Linked DNA regions of Homo sapiens: region 1 is linked to region 2. Evidence: promoter capture Hi-C in 16 types of primary human blood cells and fetal thymus (Javierre and others, 2016). All regions are on one chromosome and are shown on one strand. Each heading gives the region's core, a stretch centred on a gene start or on the middle of the fragment in contact. The rest is flanking DNA. Distances are from core to core; before and after follow the strand shown. Region 1 has its middle 16 kb from the start of DEFB115. Region 2 holds the start of DEFB123 (defensin beta 123).

The links. Contacts are between HindIII fragments. The CHiCAGO score rates a contact against its expected background, and 5 or more counts as called.
Region 1: a fragment that was not itself captured here is called in contact with the fragment with the promoter of DEFB123 in region 2 in 1 of 17 cell types (erythroblasts); the score reaches 5.2 in erythroblasts.

The regions. Positions count from the first base shown.
Region 1 is chr20:31,272,041-31,275,044 of GRCh38, reverse strand. It overlaps the pseudogene DKKL1P1. Among named protein-coding and RNA genes, the nearest start is that of DEFB115, 16 kb to the right of the region's middle. The HindIII fragment of the contact is 3,607 bases long and covers 1-3,004 here.
Region 2 is chr20:31,439,292-31,442,025 of GRCh38, reverse strand. DEFB123 (defensin beta 123) reads right to left here and starts at 1,394. Exons shown (of 2, transcript NM_153324.4): 1 at 1,270-1,394. The coding sequence starts at 1,327. The HindIII fragment of the contact is 4,618 bases long and covers 934-2,734 here.

The DNA.
Region 1 (3,004 bases), core at 503-3,002, 170 kb after region 2:
AACGCAGGTAATAAAATACATTTCTGTCTTTCTAATCAGGCAGTGAGGCATAAACTGTTTGGGCAATTTTTTAATTTTAAAAATTTTTTTAGATGTAAGAAAAGAACTTTATTTCCATATGCTGCTTGGGGCGGGGCCTGATGGGGGCTACAGACAGGTGCTCCCCGGTCCCAACCCCTATAGCTGCCAGGAAAGCCTGAAGATGTACAGTAAGTGGGTCTTTCGGAGGACAGCCCGGAGTGGGAGGAGCCCTGGGTCCCCTCTTTTAGGACGTCCTCGCGGGTCCCCTCGTGGAGCCCATCCTGGATGGCCTGCAGGCGGTGTCGCTTCTCACTGAGCCAGCGGCCGCCCTCCAGGACATTGTGGTGGGACCTCCACCGTGGCAGCTTCATGATCCAGAAGGCCACCCGGGGATGGAGCTCTGCATGGAAGTTGTCCATAGCCTTCCGGATGGACACCAGGGCCGCCGCCTACTCCATCCTGGGTACCTTCCAGTTACCCTCGAAGCTCCCCTCCGCCGGCTGGATGGATGCCACCACCTTCTCGGAGATCAGCACCTCTCCTGTCTTATTGTCGGTCACCTTGTCAATATGGAGGTGGCTGGAGAGGGTGTTGTTCCTCAGCTGGTGCTCCTCGTTCTCCTCTTGTTGGTAGTTCCTAGGGAGGCCCCGGAAGTCCATGGGGGCAGAGAAGAAGCTGTCTATGCCCCGAAGCAGGTCATCTTTCAGGAAAAGTCGGCTGAAGCCTTGGAGTAGGCTCTGGAGGCCTGTAAGACCCAAGGAGCTCTCTTGGGCATGAGCATCGTGGATAGAGGCTGCAGTGAAGGAGGTCACCAGGGCAGAGAGGAGCAGCAGCAGGACCAGCGGATGCCGCATTGCGGGGGGAGTGAGGGAGGTTTCTTCCACCCCACGCCCCTTCTTCTGGGCTCCGCCTTTATGCTAGACAACAGCCTGGTCACTGCACTCCAGGACTCTGGCCGCCCACGGACTGTTTGGCACAGTCTCAGCTCACTGGAACCCCCACCACCCGGGTTCAAGCAATTCTCCTGCCTCAGCCTCCCGAGTAGCTGGGATTACAGGTGTGCACCACCACACCTGGCTAATTTTTGTATTTTTAGTAGAAACGGGGTTTCACCATGTTGGCCAGGCTGGTCTCGAACTCCTGACCTCAAGTGATCCACCTGCCTCAGCCTCCCAAAGTGCTGGGATTACAGGCATGAGCCACTCTGGTGCCATCTGCTGTTATGCTAATGAGGATTTTCTTACATGTGACTTGACACTTTTCCTATGTTTAGAATTCTTTGTCTTTAACTTTTGACAATTTGACTATAATCTGCCTCAGAGAGGACATTTATGGATTGACTGTGTTTAGGGATCGTTGAGTTTCCTGTGTCTGGATGTCTATATCTCTGGCAAGAATTGGGAAGTTTTCAGCTAATATTTCATTAAATACATTTTCTTTGACTTTTCCTCTCTTCTGGAACTTTTAAAATTTGAATTTTTTTTTTTTTGCTTTGGTATCTTATATGTCTTCTTTCTTTTTTTCTTTTCTTCCTTTTTTTTTCATCTCACTGGGTTACTTCAAAAGCTCAGTTTTCAAGTTCAGAAAGATTCTTCTGCTTAATCTAGTTTATATTAGAAGCTCTACATTGTATTTTTGCTTTTATTCATTGTGTTATTCAGTTCCAGGATTTCTGTTTGCTTCTTCTTTTTATGATATGCATCTCTTTGTTGAATTTCTCATTCAGATAGTGAATTGTTTTCTTGATTTGTAATGTTTATCTGTGTTCTCTTGTATCTCTGTGTTTCCTTACAATCATTATTTTGAATTACTTTCCAGGCATTTCATAGATTTCTTTTTATGGGGAGGTCTATTACTGAAGAATTATTTTGTTCATTTGGAGGTGTTGTCTTTGCTTGCTTTTTCATGTTTCTTGTGTCCTTACATTGATATCTGTACATATGGTGTAACTGACATTTCTTTCAATTTTATGGAGTAACTTTTGTAAGGAAAAACATTTCCCTGTAGAAGTATCTATAATGTAAGTTGGGTAGGGTGCTTTGGCTTTGATTTTGGGTGGACACTGTAGTGTGGTCTCCATATGATTACTTTGGCTGTCATTAACATTAGTGATGTCTGCGAACTCCTTAGCATCTTAGGGTGTAGTTATTTGTGGAAGCTGTGGTGAGGCTTTGGCAGTTTCAGATGTGCTGGATGGGCTGGTTCATAGGCCCCTATGTTGAATGTGCAGGCACTGGTGGTGATGGTTATGTGCTTCATGTGGGCTAGTCTTTGGGCCCCAGGTCGGATGCACAGGCACCAGCAGTGGCAGTGTAATGCCCTGAGTGGGATGGTCCTTGGTTACTCAAGCAGAGTGTAAATGCTGGCTGGGCAGTTCCTCCTTGGGCCCCCAGGTGGGCACCCAAGTGCTGGCAATATCTCTAGTTGGGTGAGTGGACTGGTTTCATTTCCTGAGTGGAGTAGTTGGGAGCTGGTGGTTTCTGTAGTGGGTTGGGCAGGTAAGTCTCTGGGCCCTTGGGTGGTATTTATGGTGTTTCATGGCCCCACTGCTGGAGAGGAGTGAGGTTGCTGTTGGTGGCAGCAGGTCCAGGAAGGTTGCTCTCAGGCTCTGGGGAGCTCACACTTTGGTTCTCTATGTCCTTGAGCCAGTATACCGGTTGTGTTGGACCATCTGTTCCCTGGGGTGTGGGATGTTGTGTGGTCTCAGATGCTGGCAGTGTGGTTGTGCCACTGGGCTTAGCCAGCACTATGATGCTGCAGCCCTTTGAGTGGGTGTGGGTGGATATTGGTGAGGTCTCAGGGTTGTGGAGATGCAGGAGCTATTGGTCTCCATGGCGGGATATAGTCTGTTGTTGTATTTGCTCTCAAAATGGCACCATACTATAGCAGCCTGCATTCCAGGGATGGGCCCCTGTGCAAATTCTCTCCCTGGAACAAATGCAGTCACGTGGATTCCAGGCAGCTTTCCAGACTAGGCTCAGGA
Region 2 (2,734 bases), core at 145-2,644:
GGGAAAGTTTGGTGAGTTAGAGAAAATAGAGAAGCCATATTTCTTTTGCAGACCAAAATTTCAGTGTGTTCAATGTTGTTCCCTCAACCTGATATTATTACACACTTGATGTTATTGCAGTTTGAGAAATGAGGAAATTGATACTCTGAGCAGCTGAGCTTCTTGTTGGGGCTCACAGAGTCAGAAAATGATGGGGCAGGTTTTAACCCGGGGTCTGGGCTTTCCTCCCTACTCCAGGTGAGTGGTGTTTTAGGGCCTCAGGAAGACACAAGGACGGAGGTCAGCTTGTTTAGGAAATTCACACGTTTCTGACTCTGTAGAAAGGTTAGCCGACAGCCTTAGGGTGGGTGGAAACTTCTGCCAGATGAGCAGGAAGGGATAGGTGGCTCATGCTGGAATTGGTGGGTGGTAGGTCTGACCAGGGTCTTTCTCTGTTTAAACCTTCCCATGGGTCCCTCACCTGGCATTTGAGGCCCACTGAGACCTGGAGCTTGAATGCTTCCTCAGCTTTACCCCCGCCTCTCTCCTAACCCACCCCTCCATGTTATGCAGGTCCCCGACACTCCCATGCTCTCTCCCGCATCCAACCTTTGCATAGGCTGACCTCTCTGCCTGGGACACCCTTCTGCTTTCCCCTCTCCTTCCTTTTCTATTTTCGACTCACTTTTTAGGACTCAGGATATCCCTCCAGGAGGACTCTCCTTTCCCTCAGCCTGGGCTGGACCATGTGTACCCAGCCCCCTGGTTTCCCACTGCCACAGCCGTGTCACCCTGGGTTATAAATGCTATTTAACTGTCTCCTCCAGTTAGTTCCCCTGGCACCATGTCATTTATCTCCGTGGTCCTAGCTTCCAGCGCAGAGTCTGGCACAGAGACAGCTAAGTACAAATGAGCTTTCTCTCCCATTAAGGTAGCTGTGATCTTCACAAAGCTTCGTTCATTCTGGGGACTATTTTGCAAAAGGGCCATACCTGCCTCTCCTCTTTCCTGCTTCTCTTGCTCACCCCTCCCACTCCTCCTCACACACTAGGCCACCCCCACATGCTCCCTGGAGCTGGGCAGGAAGAGGAGGGATGGAGCCGCTGAGAGAGCAGCTCTGGATGTTGTAGTTGTCATCTATCAGCTGGCACCTGCTGCTGGTGAGGCGCCTCCTGCCTCCTATACGTGGTGCTAGATGACAACCTGCAGCCCATCCTTCTAGCCCTTGGGATTCTCTGACCAGGCCTTAGTCTCTAAGCCCTGCCCCTTCCTTAAGGAGGTTCAGGTTACCTGGAGTCAGCTGGGATAAGAGCAGCAGCACAGTCAAAGTCAGCAAAAGGAGCTTCATGGCTAAGGCAGCCCAAAATGAAGCTGCAAGTCCGATGCCACGGCTGAGCTAATGGGAGAAGGAGAGTGCCTGGCCTGTGGCTCGCACTCCCTCAGCTGCCCACGGGTACAGCCCTCACACTCTGACTGGACACCCCTCCCTTTGTCATTTAGGTCAGCAGGGAGAGGACAGCCAACAAGGTCCAGGGCCCAAGACTTAATATACTACCCGTTCCTTCCACCCAGCTCCAAACTGCCTGAACCCAGTGACCAGCAGGAGGCGCCACAAACACCGGCTCCGGAAGGTCAGGGAAGACGGCAGAGTTTTGAAGAATAAATACAAAGCAACAGGTAGATGAGCTGAAATGGGGTTCCAGGTGGAGGAATGTCTGTACAAAGGCTCATGTTGGTGTTGAAAATGAGAAATATGACATAACCAGAGCAAAAACTGAGAGGAAAACGGCAGAAAGAGATGAAGCTCCGAGCACCAGCCTGTCTGTCACAGCCCCCTGCTGGGTTCTAACATGCGGTGGCCCTCCCCCTAGGGTCATCCTTCCGCTTCCTCAGAGATCTGAGAACCAACCACTCAGAATCCTTCTTCTGAACTCGGGTTTTGAAAACTCATTCTTGGCCGGGCACGGTGGCTCACGCCTGTAATCCCAGCAGTTTGGGAGGCCAAGGTGGGTGGATCACTTGAGGTCAGGAGTTCGAGACCAGCCTGGCCAACATGGTGAAACCCCATCTCTACTACAAATACAAAAAGTAGCCAGGTGTGGTGGTGCATGCCTATAATCCCAGCTACTTGGGAGGCTGAGGCAAGATAATCGCTTGAACCTGGGGAGGCTGTGGTGAGCCGAGATCGCGCCACTGCACTCCCGACTGGGCGACAGAGCAAGACTCTGTCTCAGAAAAGAAAAGAAAAGGCATCTCTTTCCTTTAGTTCCCTCAGCCCTCGGGTGGTAGCTGCATCCTGTAGTTACTGTTTCTCTGACTGGACCCTGCTTGAAACAGATGTCAAGGGTATAATAGCATACAGAGGGATTACAAGGGAAAAACAACAACAACAACAACAACAGTGAAAGCCATTTCTGTAGGGGCAGAAAACAGTCAATGGGGTTGAAAACTGAAAGGTAAGTGAAACAGTGAGGTCAGCAAGTGTAAATAATTCTTTCTAAAACCCTTACAATGAAGAGAAGAAGAGACACTGGCTAGGAAGGGACTCAGTGGAAAGCCTGGAAGTCCACCTTTCCTGTGCTGTTCATTTTTGGTAAGGAGGCTCATTTCATTTCTTTTTTTTTCTTAATTTTAAAAACTATTTTTTATCTTTTTGTTTTTGTTGTTGTTTTGGATACAGGGTCTTGCTCTGTTGCCCAGGCCTGGAGAAATAATGTATCTGTTGGATTCTTTTCTCCCTAAAAGAAGAGATTTT